6 separate regions of the Homo sapiens genome follow, and all the other regions are linked to region 6. Evidence: promoter capture Hi-C in 16 types of primary human blood cells and fetal thymus (Javierre and others, 2016). All regions are on one chromosome and are shown on one strand. The core of a region is centred on a gene start or on the middle of the fragment in contact, and the rest is flanking DNA. Distances in the headings are between cores, read along the strand shown. Region 1 overlaps AHCYL1 (adenosylhomocysteinase like 1). Region 2 has its middle 22 kb from the start of AHCYL1. Region 3 overlaps STRIP1 (striatin interacting protein 1). Region 4 has its middle 5.3 kb from the start of AHCYL1. Region 5 overlaps LINC01768 (long intergenic non-protein coding RNA 1768). Region 6 holds the start of GNAT2 (G protein subunit alpha transducin 2).

What was found. Contacts are between HindIII fragments. The CHiCAGO score rates a contact against its expected background, and 5 or more counts as called.
Region 1: a fragment that was not itself captured here is called in contact with the fragment with the promoter of GNAT2 in region 6 in 13 of 17 cell types (naive CD8 T cells, M0 macrophages, naive CD4 T cells and 10 more); the score reaches 9.1 in naive CD8 T cells.
Region 2: a fragment that was not itself captured here is called in contact with the fragment with the promoter of GNAT2 in region 6 in 2 of 17 cell types (erythroblasts and M1 macrophages); the score reaches 5.9 in erythroblasts.
Region 3: a fragment that was not itself captured here is called in contact with the fragment with the promoter of GNAT2 in region 6 in 3 of 17 cell types (M0 macrophages, naive B cells and activated CD4 T cells); the score reaches 6.7 in M0 macrophages.
Region 4: a contact is called between a fragment that was not itself captured here and the fragment with the promoter of GNAT2 in region 6, in 9 of 17 cell types (fetal thymus, erythroblasts, megakaryocytes and 6 more). The highest score is 8.1, in fetal thymus.
Region 5: a fragment that was not itself captured here is called in contact with the fragment with the promoter of GNAT2 in region 6 in 1 of 17 cell types (M0 macrophages); the score reaches 5.0 in M0 macrophages.

What each region holds. Positions count from the first base shown.
Region 1 is chr1:110,020,920-110,025,386 of GRCh38, forward strand. AHCYL1 (adenosylhomocysteinase like 1) reads left to right here. Exons shown (of 17, transcript NM_006621.7): 17 at 755-2,823. The coding sequence ends at 761. Among named protein-coding and RNA genes, the nearest start is that of STRIP1, 11 kb to the right of the region's middle. The HindIII fragment of the contact is 837 bases long and covers 2,301-3,137 here.
Region 2 is chr1:109,960,048-109,965,103 of GRCh38, forward strand. No RefSeq gene overlaps it. Among named protein-coding and RNA genes, the nearest start is that of AHCYL1, 22 kb to the right of the region's middle. RefSeq lists enhancers at 1-343, 344-913. The HindIII fragment of the contact is 7,765 bases long and covers 1-5,056 here.
Region 3 is chr1:110,038,832-110,043,285 of GRCh38, forward strand. STRIP1 (striatin interacting protein 1) reads left to right here. Exons shown (of 21, transcript NM_033088.4): 4 at 341-475; 5 at 564-684; 6 at 1,804-1,872; 7 at 2,705-2,811; 8 at 2,903-3,030; 9 at 4,257-4,439. Among named protein-coding and RNA genes, the nearest start is that of STRIP1, 6.4 kb to the left of the region's middle. The HindIII fragment of the contact is 1,300 bases long and covers 2,541-3,840 here.
Region 4 is chr1:109,977,107-109,981,883 of GRCh38, forward strand. No RefSeq gene overlaps it. Among named protein-coding and RNA genes, the nearest start is that of AHCYL1, 5.3 kb to the right of the region's middle. The HindIII fragment of the contact is 497 bases long and covers 2,481-2,977 here.
Region 5 is chr1:109,899,918-109,904,702 of GRCh38, forward strand. All of the region lies in intron 4 of LINC01768 (long intergenic non-protein coding RNA 1768), which reads left to right. Among named protein-coding and RNA genes, the nearest start is that of CSF1, 8.5 kb to the right of the region's middle. The HindIII fragment of the contact is 1,782 bases long and covers 368-2,149 here.
Region 6 is chr1:109,617,925-109,622,898 of GRCh38, forward strand. GNAT2 (G protein subunit alpha transducin 2) reads right to left here and starts at 1,692. Exons shown (of 9, transcript NM_001377295.2): 1 at 1,559-1,692. It overlaps AMPD2 (adenosine monophosphate deaminase 2), which reads left to right and starts at 1,913. Exons shown (of 19, transcript NM_001368809.2): 1 at 1,913-2,354; 2 at 2,990-3,342. The coding sequence starts at 3,252. RefSeq lists enhancers at 1,080-1,610, 1,591-1,640, 1,611-2,139, 2,661-2,710, 2,670-3,198 and 2 more and a silencer at 1,831-2,020. The HindIII fragment of the contact is 17,616 bases long and covers 1-4,974 here.

The sequences.
Region 1 (4,467 bases), core at 1,469-3,968, 400 kb after region 6:
TGACATAAAGATCAAATGTTGTACCTGATTTTGAAGAATACAAGAAATCTGTTCCAGGCCAGGCACGGTGGCTCACGCCTGTAATCCCAGCACTTTGAGAGGCCTAGGCGGATGGATCACTTGAGGTCAGGAGTTCAAGACCAGCCTGGCCAACATGGCGAAACCCTATCTCTTAGCCGGGTGTGGTGGCGGGCACCTGTCATCCCAGTTACTCAGGTGGCTGAGGCACGAGAATCACTTGAACCTGGGAGGCGGAGGTTGCAGTGAGCTGGGATCATGCCACTGCACTCCAGCCTGGGTGATGGAGTGAGACTCTGTCTTAAAAACAAACAAACAAACAAAAAAACTGTTCCAGTTAACAAGGTAGATAGAGAAATTGTGGGAGATATCAGGGAGTTAGGGTTTTTTTGAAATTTTGGAGCCTGGGCCTCACCCTAAGAGATTCTGATATATTTGGTCTGCGATGGGACCAAATTTACAAAACATTATTTTGTAAAACCTCCCCAGATTATTGTAATGTTTAGTCAGGGTTGAAAAAACACTGACTCATTCCTGGGAACAGGCGGTAACACCAGAAATGGCATTGTCAGAGACCCTGTGGAAGAATAAGGGAGACTGGTGCCCTGGGGAATGACTGCAGGGATCCCACCCAGGCTGGGGAGGGGCCCTGGAGAAGGTGCTCTGTTTCCGATTGTTTTTTGGAATTCTCATATGGAAGACATAAGTGTTAACCAATCACTCTCTCTCTTTACAGATACTAATGGACCATACTACCAAGGACCAGTCCACCTGAACCACACACTCTAAAGAAATATTTTTTAAGATAACTTTTATTTTCTTCTTACTCCTTTCCTCTTGATTTTTTTCCTATAATTTCATTCTTGTTTTTTCATCTCATTATCCAAGTTCTGCAGACCACACAGGAACTTGCTTCATGGCTCTTTAGATGAAATAGAAGTTCAGGGTTCCTCACTCTAGTCACTAAAGAAGGATTTTACTCTCCCAGCCCAGAAAGGTGATTCTTTCTTTACCATTTCTGGGGACTTTAGTCTTAATTAGGTACCTTATTAACAGGAAATGCTAAGGTACCTTCTCTGTGGAACAATCTGCAATGTCTAAATCGCCTTAAAAGAGCCCATTTCTTAGCTGCTGAAATCAGTGCTCTTTCACTTCTTCAGAGAAGCAGGGATGGTACCTACCCGGCAGGTAGGTTAGATGTGGGTGGTGCATGTTAATTTCCCTTAGAAGTTCCAAGCCCTGTTTCCTGCGTAAAGGTGGTATGTCCAGTTCAGAGATGTGTATAATGAGCATGGCTTGTTAAGATCAGGAGGCCCACTTGGATTTATAGTATAGCCCTTCCTCCACTCCCACCAGACTTGCTCATTTTTCGAGTTTTTAACTAGACTACACTCTATTGAGTTTAATTTTGTCCTCTAGGATTTATTTCTGTTGTCCAAAAAAAAAAAAAAAGAAAAGAAAAATTAAGGAGAATTTTTGGTGTTAATGCTGAGGAATTGCTTGAGTGGTTAGTTGTTACCAATTTCTCTTTTGAACCTTTGGAGCTAAGGATGCTGAGTCTAGAGAAATGCTAGTCTCAAGCCCTGTTAAGTCCCTCTGTTTCTAGCCCGTAGTTCATAGCATCAGTGAACTGGAGCCACAACAGCAAATTCTATCAGCTGTGTACCATACAGCTTGTGCTGAAGGCGAATTTCTTGAGCCATTACTCAGTATAAAGCACTGAGTTCTATCTTTAGGATTTATCTTTAAGAGCAAATTTCTGGTCAGCTGTGCTTCTGCAACCTAAAATATTTAAAGGGAGGTAGGTGTGGGCAGGAGGAGGAATGATAAATTGGGCCAGGGCAAGAAAAATCTAGCTTCATATAATTTGTCTGGGACTATACACCCTATATAATGTTAGTTTTACAGAAGTAATATGACTTTTGATTGCTACATACCACAAAGAGTTTATGAACTGAGATCATAAAGGGCAACTGATGTGTGAAGAAAGTAGTCAGTACATCCTGGCTCATGCTCTGAAAGAATATCCAGAGAGGCTCTCTCAAAGATCAGGGAGATGTATTCCCATGCCATGCACCCTGCTTCCCAGCATTTCTGCATGGTCAAGTGAGCTTTATGCTCATGAGCTTTAAGTATATAATTATCCAGGATTTTAAATCCTCAACTTGTTCTAGCTTGTGATCCCTCAAAGTTGGGTCATACGTTAGTGCTAGATACTAGAAATTTTCACTTTTCCACTGATCAGAGAGACAGACATTAAAAACAAAAATAGAAGAAAGGAAAGCTTTCACCCTGCAGCTTCTTAGCAGGGAACAATTGTCTTGCCAAAACTTTTTTCCCTTTTCTCTCCCATTTTCTTTTACCCAATCCCTTCTTACTCCTTGCCAGTGTGACCATGCTTTCTTCTCTGTAGATGTTAACAGTTAAGGCCTATTTTCCTCGGGCACTTAACCAACCAATCAGAACACCACATCTGTTAGGGGAGGTAACCTGGCCAACAGTGTATCCATCACGTTAGCCCTGCTGGAGGGAAGGGACCCACATTCACCTGCCCTCTGACCTGCCCCTTGATCCCATATCTATTACCGTGTCCATAGGAATAATAGGTAAGGGCTCTGTCTCTGTCAAGCCATGTAACAAAGGACACTGTTAAAAAAAAAAAAAAGTCTGGCATCAGAGGGAGCATGTGGAGAGCAACTTGGGAAGAACAAGTTCATTTTGTATTGAATGATTTTTAATGAATGCAATATTAATCCTTGCAGATGAGCAATAATCATTAAAATCGATTAAAATGATAAGACCTTATTGGCAGTCCGTATGTGTCATTCTTTGTTAAACAGCAAAACTTCATTAGAACCTGTTTTCTAGGGTGTGACAAGTTATAGGTCAGTAGCATTTAATAGAGATTTGTTGAGGGCCTAATATATAGAGGCTGGATACAGGATTCTTCAAAGTAATACCTGAAGTTTTGTATGCCTGCTCTGTGCCAAGCACCGGGCCTGGGTACTTTCACTCCTAACTTCCTTCAGGAAGCAGACTTGCTGCTTAAGCCTCAGGGTTCCTCATTTGCATAGTCCTTCTAAGACCTAATTTCTGAAGAATGCCCCCAAAGTTATGTAAGCTTCAGCCTCCTCCCACACCTGTATCCATTTCTGAAGTGGTCTCAGTGTCTTTTTTTTTTTTTTTTCTCTTTATTTTTTTGAGACAAGGTCTCACTGTCACCCAGGTTGGAGTGCAGTGGCTTGATCTCAGCTCACTGCAACTTCTGCCTTCCGGGCTCAAGTGATCCTCCCACCTCAACCTCCCAAGTAGCTGGGACCACAGTGTCAGCTAATTGTTTGTATTTTTGGTAGAGATGGGGTTTCGCCATGAAATCTAGGCTGATCTCAAACTCCTGGGCTCAAGTGATCCTCCTGCCTCTGCCTCCCAAAGTGCTGGGATTACTGGCCAGTGTCTTCTGATGTAAGAAAGTATTTATCTTGGTCAGTTTCTGCTGCTCCAGCAAAATCCTGAGACTGAGTAATTTATAAAGAACAGAAATTGATATTCTCACAGTTGGAGGCTGGGAAGTCCAAGGTCAAGTCGTTGGCAGATTTGGTGTCTGAAGAGGGCTGCTGCCTGCTTCCAAGATGGTACCTCTTATGCATCCTCATATAGCAGAAGGTAGAAGGGCAAAAAGGACCTAACTATTACCTCATATATGCCAAAGTCTGTTTTAGATACTGGGGATACATCAGTTTAAATCAGATGATCTCTTCCTTTGTGGTGTTTACGTAAAATTCCAACAAGATCCAAATTCCTTCCCTTTTTCCTTTACCCACAATTTGGCCATTAGGTAAGACAGAGCAAGCTAGGGATTCATGTGGATTTGCAGCCTGTGAGTGTGGGTGGTATCCTTGTGGGAACTGGGGATGTAGCTTGGTACAAGGAGTCAGATCCCAAGTGGCGTGGGGAATGCATCTATGCAGGGGATGAATGGCAATGGCAGATTAGTTAGGGATAAGGGATTTGATCACTGTACGTGAAAATATTAAGGGTAGCGGAAGCCAGCTGTCTCATTTTGGAGGAAGGTGTTACACATTGGAAAGGGAAAACACTAGAATGAACTCTGCTGTTGGGTTTGAATAGGAGATGATAGTGTGAAGTCATAAATATCAACCTAGTTAAAGAAATACAGATGTCAATGTACGTGTGTGTGTGTGTACAAACACTCCCTAGCTCTCTCTACTAAGCAAGCCTTGGAGCAGCAGTTCCCCTCTTCCCCCAGTGCACATACCTGACCTCGAGGTCTAGGCACTACATTCTCCACCGAAAGAAGCCAGGACTCGTTGGAGAGATGACTGATTCCATGGCAGAGCAAAAAAAAGTACAAGATAAACCAGAAAGCAAGGAAGGCCTTAAAAAAGGATACATAAGCCAGCTGTAAGGGATTTACATGGGGTAAATCTG
Region 2 (5,056 bases), core at 1,050-3,549, 340 kb after region 6:
AGATGTTTGTTTTAGCATACCATACATTCTTAAAGCATGCGGGACAAGGAGATGCACTCCAGGAAGGGCCCTTTCAAAGTTTCGACTGGCTGTAACCTCTTTTGACCTTTGCTCTAGTGCACAGGCTCATCCTAGTCAAAGACTTGTCTTCAGCATTACAAAATTTAGAAACCAACTCTGAATTCACATGCATTGTTTGCCAATGTTTTTCAAGTCTTCTCACTTCCAGCTGGATGGTCTTAAATGTACTCTGACCCACACAGTTTCAGGCAAGTTGCAGAGCGCTTTGTAGGTATCCGATAAGTATGCCCTGAATTGAGAGGCTAATTAAACAAGAGGAATTTAGCAATATCACCTCTTGGCGTGAGTATTATGTAGCATCTGTAGTCGGGAGGGGTGGAGGGGTTGTAGAGCAGGGGTGACTTCTTTAAAACCTCTCAGTTTGCATATATGCCTCCCCTACGAAAAGTCCTGCTGGTAATAAACATAATCTGCCCTGTGTGTTCCCACCACAGGGGGGACATATAGCATGAATAAGAACTGGCTTCCCTTAGAGAGCTTTTCCAAAGGACACCATCTATTTACTCAGCAAATATTTACTGAGCAAAATGGGAGGAGAAGGGCATTCTGGGGAGAGAGAAGAGTTTGAACAAAGCTAAAAAGGAGGGAAAACCAGGAGTATGTATGGGATACACTGAATAGTCAAATTCAGGTGATAAAATCTGAAAGGTAGGAGGGAACTGATAAGTAGAGCTTTGAATGCGTGGCAAGGAGTTTGGACTTACTGAAACAGGCAAAAGGGAGCCAAAGAAGATTTTGAGCAAGTGATAAACATAATAAAAAATGCTTATTAGGCAAGTTAATATGCCAGCAGTTCCTAAATTGGACTGGGTTGAAGAATAACAATATAAAGCAGCCAGCAATGATTGAGTAGTTACTATGTACCCAGCACCATGCCAAACTCTTTGCATACATTTTCTCATTTAATGAAAGTAATAATTAATGCATTTAAGACTCAGTGTCTGGCCCATAATGTATTCCAACCCTCACAATCATCCTGTAAATTGAGTATTATTACCTCAGTTTTATAGGTGATGTCTATATTGGTCTGTTTGCTATTGCTTATAACAGAATACCTGAAACTGACTAACTTCTAAAGAAGTTTATTTCTTACAGTGATGGAGGCTAAGAAGTCCCAGGCTGAGGGGCTGCATCTGGCGAGTCTTCTTGCTGGTAGGGAGTCCCCAGGTAGTTCGGGGCACCCCATGGTGAGAGGCTGAGCAAGCTAATTAACTAATTAATTAACCATTTAATCCATTAATCCATGAATGAATTAATACACAAATGAGGGCACTGTTCACATCAAATGTTTGAGAGTTTTTTTTGTTTTTTTTTTTTCTTTTTTCTGTGTCTAAAGGGTTTTTATTTAAGAGCCTGTAGTGCTGAGTTCCACCAAGGATTTGGAAGGTCACTCTCAGCAGCAGCCACTTCTGCCAGGACCAGTGGTGAGCACCTGGCAGGGCCTTGCTGTTTCCACATAAGGCAAAGGAATCCAGCTTTTCTGTAGGATTTTTGCTGCAGCTGTTCAAAACCTTGTGTGAGCCAGCAGTTCCAGTTCAAAGGTTAAGAGGGCGCATAGCACCTAGGTGGCCAGGTTCCTGTAAGTCACCACTCAGGCCATAAGTCACCACGGAGGGGAGAGACAAAGCAGCCACAGCTGTTCTGTTTCCAGTCCCACCCCTCTGGCAAACAGATGGGGGGAAATGGAGAAGAAAAGTTCACAAAGTCGGTGAAATGGCCAGGCACGGTGGCTCACACCTGTAATCCCAGCACTTTGGGAGGCCAAGGCAGGTGGATCACCGGAGGTCAGGAGTTTGAGACCAGCCTGGCCAACATGATGAAACCCCATCTCTACTAAAAATACAAAAATCAGCTAGGCATAGTGGCAGCCTCCTGTAATCCCAGCCACTCGGGAGGCTGAGACAGGAGAATCGCTTGAACCCAGAGGTGGAGGTTGCAGTGAGCCAAGATCACGCCACTGCACTCCAGCCTGGGCGACAGAGTAAGACCCCACCGAAAAAAAAAAAAAGTAGGTGAAATGAAGAGGGCAGAGGAGCTGCAGGCAACTACTTGCAGGCCCCACCACACACCTGACAGTTCTGCCTTCAAGATCCAATCACCTCTTAAAGGCCCTACCTCTCAATACTGCCACAGTGGGGGTTAAATTTCAACACGAGTTTTGGAGGGGACCAATACTGAAACTATAGCACTGCCCAAGGTTCAAAGAGGTTAAGTATTTTATACCAAAGATCAAAGAGCTATACGTGGCAGAGCTAGGATTTAATCTCAGGTTGATCTGCCACCAAAGTTGACTCTTAAGACAGGGAAGTATTAGGAAGCAATTTCAAAAGTCCTGACAAGTGGTGATGGACTAGGGGAGGGCAGGGGGAAAAAGACAGGAAAACGGATGTACAACTAAGTTACAATTGCATAGCACACATGACATGGTAATTGAGAAATCTTTAGATAGAGAGAATGGTCAAAGATGACCCAAAGTTTCAAACATGAATGACCAACAGAAAGGTGGCACCAGACTGAAAATCCAGAACCTAAGAGGCAAAGTCAATTAAAGGGATTCTGAATATATTGAATTTGATGCGTTGATGATAACCATGTGGAGATAACTTGCTAACATTTGGAAAAATTTTATTATTCCTTATACTCTGTTCCTCATTTATAACTCCTCATTCTTTTATTTAAAAAATTTTAAGAACAACTGAAAAATCAACAGCTCTTCTTAGATCCTTCAGAGAAGTGAGGTCACGGGACAAATCACTGCCTCTAAAATTAGAGAGACAGATACAGAGAATTACAACTTAACCAAGGCAGAAACCCATGAGCAGAAACTTCTGTGGGAACCAGTATTAGGGTAGAACAACTTAAACTGTAATTGATAAATTGCTAGAGGCTCCATTGTGGACAAGTCTGAGAAATAAAAACTCCAGGGGGTCCCAGTCAGAGGGAGGCCTCACAAGTTTTTTGTGAGGTTTAGCTCCATGAGCTCTACCAGGTTCTCACAGAGAGTACTAGAGAAAAATCCCTTTATACTTCTAGGGAAAAGTAACCATTTTGAAATATGCCAGAGCATTCTGTTCTTCTGGACAAGGTCTGCCTTCAAGGGAAACGATTTTACCAGAGCCTAACCTAATGGGGTTTTATCAGCGCCTAAAACCAACTGGGGGGAAGAGAAATACCCAACTCCAGCCCACTGCAGCCATCGTGTCCCACATTGCAAGTTGAGGTGGATATTGAGAAGCACTGTGAAGTTTACAGCCCAGGGGCACAGGCTTACTAAAAAACTGAGACCTCATTATATAGAATGCTTATCCTCTCCCTACGTCTTAACTCCACACCACTAAGGACTGTTTGCCAGAGTTCCTTTTACCCAGTACATTGTATCTGGTGTGCAACAAAAAAAAGTGTAAGACATACTGAAAGTCAAAAAACATAGTTTAAAAAGACAGAGCAAGCATTATAACCAAGCTCAGGTATAGCAGGGATGTTGGAATTATCAGACCAGGATTTTAAAACAACTATGATTAATATATTAAGGCCTGTAATGGAAATAGTAGACGACATACAAGAACAAATGGGTAAGCAGAGGGATGGAGATTCTAAGAAAGAATTTTAATAATGCTAAAGATAAAAAAACACTGCAACAAAAAGGAAGAATGCCTTTGATGGGCTCATTAGCACACTAGACGTGGCTGAGGAATCTCTCAGATTGAGGATATGGCAATAGAAACTTCCAAAGAGAAAAGAGACTGAAAAAAAAAAAGGAAGAGAATTTCAAGAACTGTGGGACAACTACAAAAGGTGGAAAATAGGCATAATGGAAATATCAAAAGGAGGAGAAAAAGAGAAAGGAACAGAAGAAATACTTGAAGCAATAATGACTGAGAATTTCTCCAAATTAATGGCAGTTAACCAAACCTCAGATCCAGGAAGCTCAGAGAACGCAAAGCAGAATAAATGCCAAAAACAACAACAAAGCCCTACACCTAGTCATATTATATTCAAACCACAGAAAATCAAAGATGGAGAAGTCAGGAAGTGGGAAAAATCCCATTACCTATAGAGGAGGAAAGGATAAAACTACATTAGACTTCTCAGAAACCATGCAAGCAAGAGAGAGGAGAGTGAAATAAAGTGTTAAGACAGAAAAAAAAAGCACCAACCTAAAATTCTGTGAAATTGTCCTTCAAAAGTGGAAGAGAAATAATTACTCAGACAAACAAAAACTGAGAGAATTTGTTGCCTGCCTTGAAAGAAATGCTAAGACAGTTTTTTCAGAGACAAGGAAAATGATATAGGTCAGAAACTCTGTTCTATATAAAGAAGAGCATCAGAGAAGAAATAAGTGAAGGTAAAATAGAACTTATTTTTCTTATACTTAATTGATCTAACATAATAGTTTGCTCAAAATAATTATAGCAACAAAGTATTATATTATGGATACTTTGTGTGTCTATACATGCTTATATATGTTTATGTATTAAGTAAAATGAATGAGTGATTAAAAGGATGAGAGGGAGGAATTAGGAATATTTTGTTATTATAAGGTACTTTCACCATCCCTGAAGTGTTATAGTGTTATTTGAAAGTAGACTTGGATTAATTGTAAACATATATTGCAAATTCTAGGGCAACCTCTAAAAAACATTTTTTAAAAAGTATATATTAATTAATATGCTAAGAAAGGAGAGAAAATGGAATAATACAAAATGCTAAATTAAAGCCACAAAAGGCAGAAAAAGAATAGAAGACAAAAATAGGAACAAAGAATAATGAATAGAAAATAGTAATAACTATGGTAGATATTAATCCAAATGTATCAATAATAATTTTAAACATCAGTTGTCTAATATACCAATGAAAAGACAGATTGTCAGAGTAGATTAAAAAAAATCCAACTATATGTTGTATACAAGAAACCCACTTTTAATATAAACACACAGATTAAAAGTAAATTAATGGAGAAAGCCATACTATGCTA
Region 3 (4,454 bases), core at 1,941-4,440, 420 kb after region 6:
AATGACCTGAGTCATCCTGGAACAGCCTGAGAAGCCTGCTGAACCCTGATGGTTCAAAGCCAGATACATGTAGAGTGGGCTTGTGGCACATCGGTGGGGGCTTTTCAGAATGTGCATATTAGGGGAGAAAAAAAAATCATGTGATTAAAATTGCACCCAAAATACCAGCGTTTCAGTTTGGAATCAAATTCATAGAGCAGCAGTATGATCTTACCACTTACATAGGGTGTAACTTATCTTTCTGGTCCTATGGCAGTCCTGAATTTGGTGAGTTAACATGGGTCCATGCCATTGTGAGGATTTTTCTAGGCTCAGGTGTAACTGGTTTCTTGCCCTGCAGTGACAGACAAGAAGTGGACTGAGCTGGATACCAACCAGCACCGGACCCATGCCATGAGGCTCCTGGATGGCTTGGAAGTCACTGCCAGGGAGAAGAGACTCAAGGTGGCTCGAGCAATTCTCTATGTTGCTCAAGGTATTGAGTGGACCTCCCCAGGGTTCCCTGGCACCTCTGCCCACTCAGATGCAGGGAGGGGCTCAGTGAGTTGAACCCTGCATTGCAGGCACGTTTGGGGAGTGCAGCTCGGAGGCAGAGGTGCAGTCCTGGATGCGCTACAACATCTTTCTCCTCCTGGAGGTGGGCACGTTCAATGCTTTGGTGGAGCTTCTGAACATGGAAATAGAGTGAGCATTTTTGAGAGGCTGAGTAGGGAAGGGGAGGCTGGGATGGGAAGGGGGACAGAGCTTGCAGAACTAACTGGCTTTGAGAGGGTTAAATGGGGCAGAAGTTCTGGTCCCAGGCTGTGTTCTGACCACCTGGGTTGAATAACGGAGTTGGTCACTTACACCTTGAAGATTAATGGAGACTAATGACAGGTCCCTGCAGCTCCCTGATGCCAGAGTTTTTACACCAGACAGTGCAGGCCCTGCCCAGGCCTGGGGTGCTCCTCAGAAGGAGACTCTTCACTTTGAGCTCTCTTTTGAACCTGCAGACACTGCTGTGTTCGCCCTGCAGTTTCCGCCTTGGCAGGAGGCCAGGCACAAGACTGACATATGGGCTCAACCAGTGCCTGGCCTTGCCTGTGTCACCTTTGTCCAGTGGACAGGTCAGCTGCTGCTCATCTAAGGATAACACCATCAATGATAAAGCTAAGACAGCTCATTGAGTGCCTGTGTGTCCCGGGCATTGTTCTCAGAATATTACATGTGCTAATTCATGTTAAGGATATAGGTACTACTGTCATCCCCATTTTACAGATGAGGAAACTAAGGCGCAGTTAGAGCCAGGATTCAAACCGTGGCAGTCCAGTGCATGGCTGGGTTTTTTGTTTTTGTTTTTGTGTTTTTTTTGTTTTTGTTTTTGTTTTTGAGAGAGAGTCTTGTTCTGTTGCCCAGGCTGGAGTGATATGGCGTGAACTTGGCTCATTGCAACCTCCACCTCCCGGCTTCAAGCTATTCTCCTGCCTCAGCCTTCTGAGTAGCTGGGTTTACAGGTGCCTGCCACCACACCCAGCTAATTTTTGTATTTTTAGTAGAGATGGGGTTTCGCCATGTTGGCCAGGCTGGTCTCAAACTCTTGACCTCAGGTGATCCACCCGCCTCGGCCTCCCGAAGTACTGGGATTACAGGCATGAGCCACCATGCCCAGCCATGGTCTGGTTTCTTAACCACCGTGTCCTGTGGCCTCTTGTGCAGTCCAAGCACGTATCACAGCATTTTGTTTCCCCATTGGTCAGTACTTGTCAGGGACATCACTTATCTTCCTTCTTGGAGGAAGATGCTGACTCTCAAAATCTCCTGCAGCAACAGTGCCGCCTGCAGCAGTGCTGTGAGGAAGCCTGCCATCTCCCTGGCTGACAGCACAGACCTCAGGTGAGGCGAGCAGCAAGCCTGGGCTCCTGAGCGTTAGTCAGAGATGAGATCAGAGCAGGGTGTGGGAGGCTGTCTGTGGGTGTCATTGCTGTGTGTGCTTCTGTACACATCATCTGCATGTGTGATGGGCTCAGTGTGAATGATTAGTAGGAACTGCTGAGGGCTCGTCCTAGGTGGGACTCTGGGTTGAGACTCCCAAAGGCAATCCAGGGTCAAGTGACTTACTAGAGCCACAGCTAAGTGTGGCCTCCTACTCACACTGTTACTCAGGACCTGGTCGTGGGGTATTTTGTATTTGGATGAAACACTTGATGGTGTTCCCTGGACTCCCACCTTCTTGTGTACACAGCTTGATGCTCATCTTCATTGGGTTAGACCTGACAGCTTCCTAATGTTTCATGGCTGCCCAGGAGCTCACAGCAACTGCTGACCACCAAGATCACCCCTCAGTTTTTGAGGGTTGAAATCTGGCTCTTTTTATGAATTTGGAAGTTTTTAGACTAGGTGGTTGTAGTGTTGCCTCCCGGGTGTTAGGATCCCTGGGCGTCACCTCTCAGCTCCTGCTTTCCATTTCCTCATCATAAACCCTGTTTTTGTTCTCACTGTGACCCTGTTCTGCTTTGACCCTACAGCTCGCTACCACCTCTGTGGTTTTTTTCTTTTCAGGAAGCTTAGGGTGGTAAATGCTTTTGGCCATTCTTGTTCATACTCATTTATTCAGATACCATTTATTAATAGTAAGCCCCTGCTTTGTGTAAGCACTTTGTTAGACACTAGGGTGCTCCTTTGACCCCCCCATCCCACTCCATTGTGAGCTGGCTCTTGTCCTCAGGGTCCTGCTCAACATCATGTACCTGATAGTGGAGACCGTTCATCAGGAGTGTGAGGGTGACAAGGCTGAGTGGAGGACCATGCGGCAGACCTTCAGAGCCGAGCTGGGTAGGACCCTGGGGATCCTCTCTAGAGGCCCTGCCTGGAAGCTGAGGCGGAAGGCTTTGGGAGGGTCCTGATACCTTTGTGTCACCTCCAGGCTCCCCGCTGTACAACAATGAGCCATTTGCCATCATGCTGTTTGGGATGGTGACCAAATTTTGCAGTGGTCACGCCCCTCACTTTCCCATGAAGAAAGTTCTCTTGCTGCTCTGGAAGACAGTATTGGTGAGCACCTCCTTGGAGGAGGAGAACGGTGCTATGGGATGGGCAGTAGGGAGACTGTTCCTTGAATATCCTTTTGAATATTGAATTATGTGACTGTAAAACTGCTTTGGTAAAAAAAATTATTTAAAAAGCTGCTAAAAGGAGATGACAAAAGAAGGGCCACTATTGTCCCATTGCAGCCAACGAGGACATAGGCCTTGAGTCAGAGTAGGCTGTTGGCTCTCTGACCCCGGAAGCTGTTTTCTGTCATAGAACAGCTCTCCCCCAGACAAGTTGCCTCTCAGCAAGCAGCTCTGGACCTGGAGTTTGTAAAGGGATTTGAGGCAAAGTTACAGCTGATGTAATTGGGGCCCTGGTTGGATATCACTTAAAGGGGCAAGAGTGAGCCCTGAGCCAGCCTCCATTTTCTTCAGGGTATGGTGTCAGCCCGACTCTGTGTCTAGGTAGGGAGGGACTGGGTGCCAGAGTGGGCCGTCCAGCACACTGGGCTTGGAGCGTTGTTAGCAGCCAGGCCATGCCAGGAGGCCTTCCCAGGAGGAGTGACATGGGGAGGCGGTGGAGGTGAGTTGGGCCTCTGCTACACTGGGGCTCATCCTTCCTTTCAGAATGGGTCAACTCTGGAGCCAGGGCTCAGTAAGTATAGGATTTCTTAAAAGTCATTGACACATTTTATCTTGGCCACACATTCTGTTCTTCATAAAGCCTTGCTAAGGCTAGAGAGGAAAGCTGAATTGCTCAGAAACAGTAAAACTAAGCAGTCTAAAGCTGGATGTTGCTGGCGTTTCTGCTTCTTGGGAGATGTTTAGATGAAGCTTTTTTTCTTCTTCTAAAGTTGAGCAACCAACAGTATTTCTAATTTGACTTTGAAAGACTTGCATGTACAACTTGTGAAACATGAGTCTCACCAACTTTTCTAGGAACTTGCAGGGTTAGGCTCTTTGCTTCTTTTTAAATTGAAGAGTATGTCATAGGTGCAGAGTTAGTGTATCTGCACTAGGGTCAGTCAGCCTGCATCTCCACTCTTTCCTTGTTCCTTTTTCTCCTTTCCCTTGCGGATGTCACGGAATTCTCCTTGGGAGTGGCTTCAGTCCATTGTTCAGGAGTTGCCTGGGTCTCTATAAAGACATGGGTCATGATGTCATGAATGTTTCTGAGCCTGACACAATGGTCAGGGGCCAGCCTGTGGACACATTGACCCTGGCTCTGCTTCCCTGTCTGTGATGCAGTGCACGCTAGGCGGCTTTGAGGAGCTGCAGAGCATGAAGGCTGAGAAGCGCAGCATCCTGGGCCTCCCCCCGCTTCCTGAGGACAGCATCAAAGTGATTCGCAACATGAGAGCAGCCTCTCCACCAGCATCTGCTTCAGACTTGATTGAGCAGCAGCAGAAACGGGGCCGCCGAGAGCACAAGGTGAGGACGACAGAG
Region 4 (4,777 bases), core at 1,479-3,978, 360 kb after region 6:
CGCCTCTTGAAATCCTAGTCATCCTTTAAGATTCAACAAAACCAACTCTCCTTCACAAGCCTGCCCCATTCCCTCTACGGGGAGCGTCTTTCTTTCTTCTTCCACGGGCATCTTCCGCCTCTGACTGCAGTCATCTGGACACATTTTGCAAGCTCCCTGAAGGCAAGGGCTGGGCCTCATTCATCTCTGCATCCGCCACGGGACCCAGCTCAGGATCCTGCAAGCTATGGAGCAGCCAAATGTTTGTGGAACTAAAATTGGGACCTGGGCCTAGGCTTGGATGAAGTTTCGGGCTATTTCAGGCCCTGGAATGGGTGGGGCGATGAAGGGAATGTTGGGGTTGGGAGATAAAAGACCCGAGCGGGAATGAGGCTTGGGCTTCACTGACTGGAACAGCCTCTCCATCCCCACCCCTTGATGTCTCCTCATCTAGCCCGAACAGAAACAGGGAAACACTGTGTACTTGCGACTCTCTTCCATCAGTCTCTTGAGCCCTTCCAGGCCCTCACATCACCCACTCCTTCCCTGAACCCCTATAAAGAGGTCAAAGGGCCAAGCGGGTCTGCAGGAAATGGCTGAAGGGCCTTTGTGGAGAGGCCAAGGTCCAAGCTCCTGGTTCTGGCATGAGATCCATCGTTGCCGTTGGTCTAAAATATTGTGTTGACCCTCCGTCAGGACTCTGTGGAAGTGTGGAAGTGGCATGAGCTCATGTTGGAGGCTGAAGAGCTCTGTCCTCACTGCTGCAGAATGGGACAAATGCTGAGGGTGTGGAGGACAAGGCTTAACTCTTTCCCCGGGGAAGAGGCCAGGCTTGCGTTGTGCATGTGGAGCCTTCAACCCTTAAAAGGCTGTCCAGGCAGAGCTCCTGGAATCGTGGAGGAGAAGGGAGGTTTTCAAGACCAGGGTTGAGAGGCATGAGGAGCAGCCTTGGGAATCCAGGTTGGTTGCAGGGAGGGCTTGAGAGGGTGAAATGGTTAATGGTTTGTTGAAAAACAGGGAGAGTCCCTCCTCCAGGGGCCCAGCTGGCTGCAAAGCCAGGAGCAGAGACTCCAAGGGTGATGCAATGGGGCCCGCCCTGCACACCAGAGAGGGTGAGGAAGGCAGGCTCCCACCCCGCAGCAGCCTCCGCACCACCAGCAGCCGACCACTCTCCTCTGGCTCCAGCAAACCAGCCACAGGCCGGGCCCTTCAGGGCAAAGGGGCAAGACCCTGAGCACCTGAGCTTTGGGAGATGGCAGCTTCTGTCTGTTCCACTCCATCAGCCCCAGAGCCTTTCCAGTCAAGACAAATCCTCTACTAGCCCCCAGCAGGCATCCTGAAGGAGTACCCACCAGGATATCAAACCATCCTGGCCACCTGTGTCTCTGCGATTCCAGGACTATTTCCAGTCCTAGAGGCAGGTTGCAGGTTATGGGTAGAGAGGCAGGCCTGGGAGAGGCAAAGACAGGCAGTGTCCTCCCTTATCCCAGAAGCTGACACTTACATCTCACCAGCCCACTCACCATTGCCCTGGGGGAGCACATCTGCCAGGGAAGCAGTATCCCAGAAGCTTCTAAAAGACTTGGGGCTACTTCAAGGGTGGGTCAGCATCTCTGAACTCGGGAGAGAGACTGCTCTTCCTTCCCTAGCATGGGGCTAGACACAGCCTCAGAAGCAGGGAGAGGAAGCATGCCACACACTCTGGAAGACCGCTCAGGGTGGGGCACATGGAGACAGCAAGGAGAGGGTGTGCCCTCTCAGACAGTACTGGGAACCTTGATTTTCTGACAAAGCTCTGCTATGGACTCTAAGCCCCATGAGGACAGGAACTGTGTCTGTCTTGTTTACTGTGGGATCCCTGGCGCTCAGCACAGCTCCCGAGACAAAGCTGATGCTCAGTAAATAACTGACTGGGCAGAGGCCAAAGTCCAAGGCCAGTTTCACAATTTCTACTTTTTTGGTAAACTCTTCACCATCCCCACCTCCATCCTCCCCGCTCCCATATACACACTTAAGAGCAGGAAAAAACATACAAAGTAGCACAAACAGTCATCAGAACAGATTTCTTGAACATTGTTTACAATTGGTGGATGCCTTCTCAGTATGAACTTTAATGTGTGGCAGCTTTGGGAACTGAAGTAAGATACATCAGGATCTCTGGTCCAACCTAGAAAAAAAGCATGTGAGGAAGTTCCAAGGGGCTGCTGGTCACACAGCCAGACCCCGGGGCCAGGTTGGGCCAGGAAAGCAGCAATTTCTCATGGCTGGGGCAGTGTCAGCCCTCCCTTTTGAGGAAACACATCCACATGTCAACAAGTACTCAAAACCAGCAATGACAATCCTTTCCTGCAGCAGACGGGTTTCTGCTTATTCCTGTCATTCCGGGAAGCGGAGCGAAGAGAGAATTCCAAATTCTCAACAATAGCTCCTTTGCCCTCCATGGTTAGCCTGGACCCACATCTTAGTACCTTACATTTGCACAATATTTGCAACTTGTTCAAAGCTTTTGCATATTTATGATCTTACTGGATTAGGTCATTACAAGCCCCAGATGGAGAGCTATCAACCTGTCTTGCATGAGGAAGAGGAGGTCAAAAAAGGTCCAGGATGCCAGTGGCCAAGTTAGTAGCAGAGTGAAGATTTGAGCCCACATCTCTGCCCAGTTTTCCTGCTTCCTCACACCATGCAGCCTCGCCATGAGTCAGCTATCACGAGTTCCAGACACAGGACCTCAGATCCTCTAGGGCCAAAAGGTGCCTCCTTATCCTGGTCCTTGTTTACAGTCATTATAACTGCCCCCACTACTTACATTTTTGCTCCCTTTCTCTGGCAGGAGCTGGTGCTGTGACCCATCTTCGCCTGTTTTGCTTGAAAGCCATCCCCACACCCACTCCGAAACCACCTCCCTCCATTCCATTATATTGCACTAGTTGGAAACAATTCAAATACCGAACAATAGGAAAACAGTTAAGCAAACTCATAAAGCAATATGACAGAAAGCTTGGAAAACATGGACAATAATAACAAGTATGTCAATGCTCTCCGTTCGGGTCATGTGTTTTTGAAATATTGTAATTTGATCAAAGCAGAATACAAAAGGACATGAACCTACCAATCACAGGTATGTAAAAATGAGTTTCTGCAAATTGCTAAGAACTAGGAGTGAACTTAACAAGATGAAAAGAAATTTTTAAAAAATCTTCATGGATTTTTCTTTCCTATAATGTTCAAAATGATAATAAAGAGTAAGTGATCCTAATAAATATGACAATAATAAGCAGAGGGGGAGACAGAGAAGGAGGAATGTTTTCCCACTGGAACTGGAGAAGGGGAAGGAGAAAAGGCTGAGGGTAGGGAGGGAGGGAGCTCGGTGGGAAGTAGGAGCCAGGAAGCCTGAGGACCAGCACCCACAGCCACAGAGGTGCAACCGGGAGCCCACCCTCTGGGGGTCCCTAAGGGCCAGCGAGGTAGGTGACCAATCTGAAGTGGTGCTCCAGGGCACCTTTCACAATAATTACAATGTCAGTGGTGCCTCCTAGAGCTGTGCAAGGTAGCAGTTCTGGGACAGAAAGAAGCCTGGAGCTGGAGGGTTTGCCCATGCTGGAGAGCTAGAGACAGAGCCACTGCCCTCTTCACCTTCTTCCGAACTTCCATTGTCACCCAAGATCTCTGCAGTTTTTCTGCACTTTCATTCCAGAGGGCTAACATAACACCTGGCCGACAGGAGGTGAAAGGCCTTCAGGAGGAGCACAGCCTCCCCCTGGTGGGGAGCCTGACTGGCAGGGAGCGGGCAGTTCCAAAAGGTGCCAACCTGGGCTCCCCTGAGACTCAGGGACAGTGCCCTCCACAGACATATCAAACTCAACATGTCCCAAGCTGACTCCTCTCAGCAGCCCCCCTCCACCCCTCTAGCCACACTTGCTTCTCCTCCTGTGCTCCCCAGCATGGCAGACATCACCACCACCCACCCAGGGCTTAACACGCCCTGCAGGATCTGGCCCTGGCTTCAGCGCTCACTTCACCCTGCTTTGCACCCTGTGCCCCACCCACATGGGGATATTTACAGTTCCCGTAATATGCCAAGCTGTTTCCATCACCATGCCTATTCTCAGGCTGTTTCTTCAGCCTGGAGAATCTTCCCTCCCTTGCCCAGCTGCTTATCTGTCAAGACTCAGCTCTGGCAGCATCTCCCTCTGTGTCATCCCTTTGCCCTCCACTGCACCCCACCCCCATCACCTGTCCCCACGTAGAGATCAGCACCTCAGCTTATTTATCTCTGTAGTCCCGACTGACATCTAGCCCTGCTGCTGGCACTTCTTCGGCACTCAATATATATTTTATAAATAAAAGAACAAATGACTGAATGTAGAACATCAATTTGGGGGTGGACAAACAGTGAATCTGATTAACAAGACCAAGCCCACGTGTGGTAGCCCAATGCCACTACATTTCTGGTGACAGCATCTCCCAATTCACCACTGCCCTTAGGCCACTCCTTTCTAGCAAGGGTCTTCGCTCCAGGCCCTTGGAGACTTCCCACCACCACACACAGCAGGTGCATCTGTCTTTGGGTCCCTGTTCTTCTCCAATTGCCCCGTGGGGGGTCTCTCACCTGTGTGTGGATGCGCTGTTCAGGGCAGTGAGCTTGCCAGTAGAGGTGCTGAGTCAGGTGGGTGGGTAGGCTGAAGACAAGTCATCTCTTGGCATTCATGAGAAGCAATCGCCTTAGCTGTGCCATGTGAGGCTATCTTAGGATGGGTTTTGGGGGTGGGAGACAGGATGCAATGATTCTCACGGA
Region 5 (4,785 bases), core at 9-2,508, 280 kb after region 6:
AGTCCCAGCAATTCAGGAGGCTGAGGCAGGAGAATTGCTTGAACCCAAGAGGCGGAGGTTGCAGTGAGCTGAGATCGTGCCACTGCATGCGAAACTCCATCTCAAAAAAAAGAAATTTTTTTTTTGTAGTTCCACAAAAGAATGATCTGGCTTCTATGGGCTTCACAGTTTAAACATGTTCAAGAACTTCCCATTCTTCTGATGTTGAAATTTGGATGCAGTCCAACTCAGAGGTTAAAACACACACACACACACACACACACACACACACACACACACGACAAGAAGTAAATCCTCTAGAATCAGAAGAAAAATTGCAGCCTTGAAAATCACAGCTTTACTCATGAGGCCGCCTAGAAGTGCTAGAAGCTTCTTCTTACTTATAAGAAATGAAAAAAAAAAAAGGGGGCAGGTGTCGAGGAGGATGGGAGGATGGGACAAGCTGCTGGAAGGTGTAGTGAGCGCTGAACAGGTCAGCCCCATCCTGGTGCAGAGGCCTGGTCTGAGACGCTCCGCCGTGGAGGCATGTCCTGGAAAGTGTATGCTGGTGAGGAGCAGTGGAAAGGCTTCCCTACTCCTAATCTTCTGGACTTTGGAGGCTGCTCTAAAGTTTACCAAGACTTCACATTTGCCATCACATTTGCTCATGACAAGGCCCTGAGGGAGGAGTTACTTCTATCCCCATCAGAGAGGTTCTACAGTTTGCCAAAAGTCACACAATAAGGGGCATGACATGATGGTCCTCCTCTTGAATAGATTCCTTGCTTATGGAGCAATCTCCAGATGATTCACTGGGGAGCCTGAAAGAGGGACAGGGTCATTTGGGTGGGGACTGAGGTATTTCAATTCGCCTGTCTCACTCTCCACTGTGCTCCGGTACCAAGACCTAGATCCTCACTCAGTATTTGTGCAGGGTATTGAAACTCCATGTCCCTACTCTAGGCAGGTACAGGTGTGTAGGGCAGGCACAGACGGAAGCTGCAAATAAGCTGGCACAGGGAAAAGGGTTAGGAGAGGGATGTAAAGTGCCACTGAGATTCTGAGGAAGATGAGACCATGTGGGTCAGGGAAACAGAACTCTCGTTGGTGAAGAGAGCAGCCGAGAGGGCCTTGAGGGGGTTTATTTCCACAGGTGGGGATGGAGGCATAGTGACACCTTCTGTGGCTTTGCCTCTGCCAGCCTTGCCAGACTTCTTCCCCTCCAACCCTCTGCCACTCACACTCACCACACCAAGCCAGACTCCCCTCCCCACTTTGCCTTTGCTGCTCCCTCTGCCTGGGATCCCCTTCCCTGCCCCTCCCTTCTGTCCTTGTCTTGGCTCACCTGTCATCATCCCTGAAAACTGAGCCTGACCCTGGACTTTCTCCTTAAGGCTCCCAGAGCAACCTGGGCTTCCTCCCCGATAGCACTAACTATGGGGTGCTGTCACTGCCTGCTTCCAGCCCCACCCCTACAGCCCACTGGACTGTGAGCTCACTGACAGTAGACTGTCTTCTACTTTGGAAATCCCAGCACGTAACCTTAAGCCAGGCACACAGAAAACATTCAATAAAGATTTATCCAGGGCATGGCTATTGAATTTTTGTCAGGTGTAGGGGTGCATAATGGAAAACAAGATGGAAGCAGAAGGTGGGGACCAACACGAAGAAGGCCCTGGCATCAGTCAAGGGTGCTAGCATTTACTCTGTGGGTGTGTGGAGCCACTGTCAGCACTAGGTGAGGCCACAGCAGGGAGGACAATGCCCACTGGTAGGACTGCTATGCCACATGAGGGCTAGAGCAGAGCAAGGTCAGACCAAGAGCGAGGAAGGCCTGACAGGTGCCCCAGCATCCTGTATGCATGCAGGTCTCTGCAGCCTTTGGAGAGCCTAGACAAGCACCCCGAGTTCTGCTAGTACCTGGGTTAAATTGACAGAGTGAGTTCTGACCTGCAGCTATGGCATCCTGCCAGAACCCATGACCTCACCCAAGTGCAGAGGGCCCATGACAAGCATGTGACACAGCAGTCAGCACTGGGACAGGCCACAGTGGGATGAAAGGGTGGAGCTTAGCTTAGAAATAGGGGAGGGAAAAGGTTACTTCCAGCAGAGAGAATGATCTGGATTCGTAAAATCCATTCATTCACTCATGCATTCATCCATTCAACAAAGCTTTATTGAGCACCTAGTATATATGGGTTCCATGGGAGATAAAAGCTATCTCTACTCTCATAGTTCAGTAAGAAGAAGGGTAAGAAATGTACATAAACACAAGAGAGACACAGAGACCAAGAACCATGGGGCCAGAGGAGAGAGGAAGCATTCCTGTTGAGAGTAAGGGGGAATGTTTCCCGAGGAGGGGACATTTCAGACGGGCCCTAAAGATGAGTACAAGGAGATTCCAACAAGAAGACATGGGAGGGGCAAGCAGGGATGGCAGGAGACCTTGAGCTCCTGGGGGTGGGAACCATGGCAATCTGGTTCCTAATTGTCCCTGGTCCCCATGTGGTGATCCGTGAGCATTTGTCTTGTTTGTTGAATGAGACAATGACTGTTTCCTGGTCCCGCCTTCGCTCTTCACCGGATCCACCACTGATTACCCAAATTTCTCCCTCTGCAGCACTTAGTCTCCTGAGCTCTGTTCCTTCTGCCAAACCCACATCTTGGACCTCAAAGGCAAAATATCCATTTCTCTGACCCCACAGACCCTCTCCTCATATCCTTGATCTCACCCCTGCCTATCCCCAGGACCCTGCTCCTTCAGTGGCCTTGTCTCTCCATCTGCTTAGCTTCTCCCTCTGTGGGCTCCTTCCCTTTCGCTGGTAAACCTGTATAAGTGTCTGGCACTCCCCCAAGCCCTCACTTCCTAATGAGATGCTGCATTTCCTAAGGACAAGTCCAGGCAGCACCAGATGTGCCTCTTCACGGACCCCATCAGACAGTGCCCTATGCTTGGAAAACATTCATTGAATGGATGGATCCAATCCTGTCATCTCCTAGCATCCTCAGTGGTTCTCAATGTAAAGTCAAATGTCACGTGTATGACCTACAGATGCCCAATGAATGGGATTGGTCTGGCCTGTCTCTCACTTCCTCTAGTCTTCCTCCCCAGCTCCAATCATTCCTGAGTAATTATACTACCCAGAACCCACTACACTGCCCTCGCCTCTCCTGAGTTTGTGCATGCTGTTCCCTCTCTCTGGAATGAATGCTCCTTCCCTACTTCTGTGCCACGTGCACTTTTGCTCTCAATGCAGCTCAAGGGTCTCCTCCTCCCATGAGACTGTGAGCTTCCTGGGAGTAAAACATGGTCCTAGTTAATAACTTTAGCCCTAGTGCCTAGGTAGGTGCTCAATAGATGTTCATTAAGTAAGCAAATTAAGGAATGTAGGGAGAAGTGCTAGTGATTCCAGAGGCATACGCTCAATTTTCCTCTTGAGTCCTGGCTCCCACCTGCAAAAAGGGGTGAAATTGCTTAGGGGCATGGAGTGTCCAAGAAGACATGAACCCATAGTCTGGTTTCCTCCAAACTCAGCTCTAGGAAGATTCTTCTTTTAAGCTGGCTTAAAGAATTAGGCGTGTGCTCAATGATTTTCTTTTAATTCAAGGCAGAACTGGAGTATGACTTCTATTGTCATGTTCTAAAAATATATCTTCTATGGTTCTCTGCTTTCTTTGCAGTAAAATAGCCTTGGCATGACCCTGTTTTTGCATAACTGAAGACACAATTTAATGAAATAGCACTTTATGAGCTTTAAGGGAAGCAAATATCTGACCTAATCAGGGGTGAAAGAAGGGGAGAGAGACTCTATGCCAGGCTGTTCCATCTCTGTTAGGAAAGGCCCAGGGCCAGGCAGTTCCCAGCTTTTCAAGGAATGTTGGCACAGGAGTCCAGGATCAATTATCCTCAATCAATCAGCAAATATTTATTGAGTGAGTACAGCATGGGGGGCTATAGCTGTGGAAAATAAGATGCATGTGAACCTGGTTTGCTTTCTATGGTGAGCTCCTTCTGGTCATATCGTTCCTATTACTTCTATGAATAATTGTAGCTAGTAGTCACTGGGCACCCACTCTGCAACATGGGCCTGGTTATATACTATGTTGACTTCTTGTAACACTCTGAGACAGGTAGTATGACTTCCACTTAGTAGATGAGGAAATTGAGGATCATAAAACTTCCACACTGCCCCAGGTCACAAAGCTAGAAAGTAGCGGATCTGAGATCTGAATGTAGATCTGATTTCAACCCCAAAGTCCTTTACTAATGATAGCCAACATCACATGAGTCTTCTAAGATTACAGAGCATTTTCCAGTAAATTTCTAATTTGATTCTGTCACTACTCATGGGAGGCCAAAATTATGATAATTCCCATTTTACAGAGAAGAGAACTGAGGCTTGGAGGATTCAAACAACTTGCCAAAGGTCCCTGTTGGTAAATGGTATATCCAAAAAAGATCTGAGCTGAAGCCAAATCCTGCATTCCTTCTACACCTTGGCAAGGACTGGATCATCGCTTCTAGCAAACAGCTGGACACTGACAGGGAGAATTCTCACCTAACAGCCCCAGAGAGCACCCTGGTGCCAAGCCATGGACGGCCCTGCCTGGACTCTGCCCCAGAAGCCTGCCCATGGAGGACAGAAGAGGAGGCTGCTCCAGGCCAAGTGACCAGCTGCTCTGGGGACTCGCAGCCCAGCACTGGGAGCTGGCAGGGAGCAGGAGGGGCAGAGCGCTCTGCCTGGGCTCCAACAAACAGGCTTTCTAGTGAATGGACCAATTGGCGGTTGTGGGTTATGTGGCCAA
Region 6 (4,974 bases), core at 442-2,941:
AGCCTCAAAATCCCTAAGCGCCCCAAGACCAATTCAGTGGGCCATAAATGTAAACAGAATAGTTTAAGTCTGGGGTTAAGACCCCGGGAAGGCTGGGTTGGGGGGACTGTGGAGGCAATTACAGATTTTTACAGATTTTTGTTGATTTCTATCCCCTTGATTATAAAAGTTATGGGTATGTATTATAATTTCTAAAATGCAAATAAATATAAAGAAAATAAATATAACCCATAATTCCATCACTACAGATAATCATTGGTAAACTTGTTGGTGTGTTTCTTTTCTACCCATGTATATCACATAAGTAGGACCATACTGTGTATAGTGTTTTGCATCCATTCTTTTACCTAACTTTATATTGTAAACATTTCCACATCATTAAACATTTCTCCAAGAACAATTTTTAATGGCTGTATTTCATGGTATGAATATTACATAAACATTCCCCTATTGTTCGACCTTTAAAGTATCTAACTTTTCTATGCAATACACATTGTGGTGCTGAACAACTTTTTGCATACATATTTTTCTGGCAGCTCTTTTTAGAAAAACAACTTCCAGAAAGTTGATTACTGGGTCAAATAATAAGAACCTTTTTGAAAATTTTGATTCTATATTACCAGATGGCTTTCAGAAAGATTATATCAGTGTTCAAGGCCACCAGTAATGTGTTTGTGCACATGTACGTGTGTGTGTGTCTCCCATCTCACTAACTATACCCTTGCCAACCTGCATTAGCGTTTATTTTTTGGTTTTTTGTTTTTTAGTCTTTGCTATTTTGATTAGGTAAACCTGGTTATCTCTGTTCTCTTTTTAGTTTTATGGATTCTGTGTGAGGTGAAGAGGCCAAGTTTTTTTTAAGTTTGTTCAGGGAACAGTAGCCAGGGATCAATGGAAGTGGCACCAGATGCAGGTGGAGAAAAGGGTTCAGGGTCCAGAATCCAGCGTGGGGAGAGAAGAGGGAGGCAGAGTTTGGGAAGGATCTCTGCTGTGGGAGTGGTAAGAACTGGGAGGAGCCAGACAAACAGCATTAGAACAACTGGGTGTGGGGGGCAAAGGCCTCCCACAAGAGGGAAAATAGGGAAGAGATTAATTCCTGCTAATGCATTTAATTATATTCAGTGAAGTCTTAGGGACTTCCCTCCACAAGTTCCCTTTAGGTCGGATTATCTACCCCTTGGCAGTGGGGATGCTTGTTGGATAGACCCCAGAACGGCTGCAAGTGAATCAACCTGTGAGTGTCAATAGAGAACCAAGGCCAAGGCTAAAGCAATGGTAATACATGAATACTGAGTACTAACTACAGGCCAGGCACAGTTCTAAGCAGTTAACTTATATTAACTCATTTATCTTAACCACCATATAAAGCAGGTACTCTTACACTCATTTTACAGACGAAATAGAAGCACAGAGAAGTTAGGTAACTTGCCCAGTATCAGTCAGGAAGTAGGTGAAATCTGGATTTGAACCCAGACATTCTGGCTAGAGTTAAAGCTCTTAACCACCAAATACAGAAATGTGGGAAGGGGAGCCAGAATTGCAGGGCACAGCCTCCTACCTACGCCGGCCGGAAGAAAACAGACGACCAAGTGAGATTGCAGGGGCAGGACTTCTGCTTAAAATGAATCCTGGGACAATGATAACAGCTACCTTTCACTGGGCCCTCACTTCGTGCCAGGCACTGTGTAAAGGGACTTTACGTTTAATCTTCACAGTAACCCCTTTGAGTGAGGTACTGTCATTACCCCATCTTACTGATGAGGAAGCTGACGCACGGAACTGGCCCAAGACCCAGGGTCGGCTCAGGCCAGCCCTACCGCGGTGTGGTGGCTGCCCACGTGGCGCCCAGGAAGAGAAAAAAATGGCGAGGCGGGGTCGGCAGGCGGAGGCGGGGCCAGGCGGGGGCGGGGCCAAGGGCCGCAGAGCCTGGCGCGGAGCCGGCGAGATTTTGGTGGGGTCTCACCTGTTGCGTGACTCCCCCACAGTCCGGCCGCGGGAGTCCGACCCTGAATGCCCAGGGAGTGTTGAGAGAAATCTGGACGAGTTTCGGGTCCCGCTCCCTTGGGAGCACGTGGCCTACCAGCCTCTCGATTGCAGGGTTGGGTGGTCGCGACACCGGGGTCGCCTTGAGGCCAGTCCGGCTGCCGAGGTCTGCGGGAGTCCACCTCCGGCCAGCTGGCAATTTTGAAAGACTGCCTTACTTTCCCCATCTCAGTGCCAGGGCAGGGGCCCTTGGAGTGACTTGGCTGGGGTCTGTGGCCCGATCCCCCTGCCGTCCCTCAGGACCCGGGCTTTCTGCTGTACAGACTTCTCGTGGGCAGCCTCCCCTCGGAACTCGGGCATCATGGCCTCAGGTGAGTGTGTGTACGTGTGTTGGAGGGAGGGTCTCTGGGACAGAGAAGTGCTGTGGCCAGAGTGACAAGAGGGTGGGAGTCACAGCACAGCAGCAGGACCTAGGGAAGGCGGTCAGCTCCTCCCAGGAGGGCCTGGGGAGCAGAGCCAGAGTGTGCAGAGACAGAGGAAAAATCCAAAGAGGCTAGGGTCTCTGTCCCAGACCCCCAGACAAGGGGGTCTCCTGGCCTTCCTGCCTTCCTGGGAGGTAGCTATTTGGCGACGGTGGAATTTTCCCGGGACAGGCCCCTCCCTCCTGGGCTGGGATTCTCGGTTCTTCCCCCTCCTCCCAGAGCTGGGCTACCCCGGGAGCTGAGGGTCAGATGTGGAAGGAAAGTGGGTGCTGGGTTTTCACGGAGTATGCCTGCCCTGCCCCGGGAGGACTGTGTTTGAGCTTGGACTCGCTCGCTGCTGAATTCCTGTTTGTTATTCTTTTTTCTTCCAGGCTAGCTGGAAGGACCAGCTAGCCTGGACTTTGGCTTCTTTGCCCGGGAGCCCTGGCATGATGGGGTGAGGGCTCTTGGTGGGTTAGTGGAGAGCTGGGGGCTGGCCCTTCCCCATCTTCTTTTCTACCCACCCCCTCCCCGCCCCCCGCCAGGCCCAGCCACCATCAGTCACGTCACTCCTGGGACTGAGGAGGCAGGGGAGGGATAAGGGGCAGAGATGGAGGCCCCACTCCCCGAGGTTGCCTAGACAACATGAGAAATCGTGGCCAGGGCCTCTTCCGCCTGCGGAGCCGCTGCTTCCTGCATCAGTCACTCCCGCTGGGGGCGGGGCGGAGGAAGGGGTTGGATGTGGCAGAGCCAGGCCCCAGCCGGTGCCGCTCAGACTCCCCCGCTGTCGCCGCCGTGGTCCCAGCCATGGCATCCTATCCATCTGGCTCTGGCAAGCCCAAGGCCAAATATCCCTTTAAGAAGCGGGCCAGCCTGCAGGCCTCCACTGCAGCTCCAGGTGAGTGTGTGCTTCCTGGCCTCAGGATAGATGCTGGGCTCTGTCTTGCCACCTCTCGCCCAAGGTGCTGGTCCCCTCAGAGGGGGCCACCTCCTCCGGCATCCTCTCTGTGGTGGTGCCCCTCAACCTCAGTCCCAGGGACAGCCGGCTTGGAAGGTGGGGTGAGGGGTGGTGGGGGGCGGGGGGTGGATCTGAGATATCTGTGCCAGGGATGCTGTCCTCTGTCACAAGGAGTGGGCATGGTGTGGGTGCAGCAAGAGGTGTGTATGCACACGTGTCAGCGTGTGCATGTGCTAAGACTGCGTGTGAAGCATGTGTGAATGGAGCGGGGGTGTGTGGGACTGACTGTTTTGTGGACTGGCCACTCTGACTGGCGCCTGTGCCTTTACCAGGCAGGCTTAGGCTGTTCTGTGGCTAGTTCCACTTTTTAGGACCCCACATCTAGATCCCCCTCACTGGGGGTCTGACATCTGGGCACAACCATTGCTGGCTGGCATCCCACAACTGGGGGCTTGACTGTATCTATCGTTTGCTATTTGCTCATTCCTGGTCTATATTGTGAGCCTCCTTAGGAGTATGGGGTGTCCTTGGTCAGGTCCGTGCAGGGTTCAGGCTGGGGCTGCTGCCCGCACTGTGTGTGCTTCTGCACCCTTTGGTTCGTCTCTCACTCTAGTAAGCATCTCTGCATCATTTGGAGCAGGCAGTGAGGTGCGGCAGTGCCTGTCTCAGTGAGGGCTTGGCTGCCTGGCTCTGTGCTTGCAGAGGGATATCTGCCTGCTGTCTGCTCCCAGGCCTTGTGGCTAAGGAAAGACCCACCCTGACTTTGATGACCAGATCATGCCGACTGCCCCCACCCTTGCAGCTGTCTGTAGCTATAGCCCAAGTATCAACCTCCTATATTTTTTTGTTTCATTGAAGATGACTGGTGCAAGGTCTCTACTGTCCTGAGGGTGTTCTCTGTGCCCAGGTCTGTGCCATCCAGAAAGGGTGTCCCCTGGGTGGGGCCCTTCCTGGCCCTGTTTGGTTCAGCAATAGGGCAACTGATACGGATCTAGCCCAGAGCTGGAGACCCTTCGGTGGTCAGATGGTAAGAGCATCTGATACTTGTGGGGTCAAAGCCGTGGACACCCCTGTGCCTACTGAGGCAGTCGTGGCAGTGTGTGAGGGGCTCCTGGTCGAGAGGGGAGATGGGGTGCTCAGAATCTCAGAGTTGGTGGGAGTGGCTCTGGAGCAGCCCACTCTGGCTTTTGCTTGACTTCTCCGTAAGTGTGGGTGTATGTGTGTGGTGCTGACCCCTAGAGAAAGGACCAGTAGGCAGCTGAGTCTTCTAGGCCTGGCCTCTGAGAACGTAGCGGTTACTGCCCGTGTGCCACCTTCAGTGAGCCTGCGGCAGCCCTGGAGAGTGGTCTGGCAGGCTGGGGGGATGGCACTGGCTGTTGGAATCTGTCCTGCTCACCCCAGGATTGCTGTGGAGCCTGAGACCCCCCTGCTAGGAGAGGGGGTTGAGATTTGAGCCTTTGACTCAACTCCTGCTGACCCAATATGAACCAGCCATGGAGGTCTGTGGTCGGCCTCCCCTAGAAGGAGTCAGAAGTGGTCTGGGGCCATATGTAGGGAGGAGGTGTGTAAAAT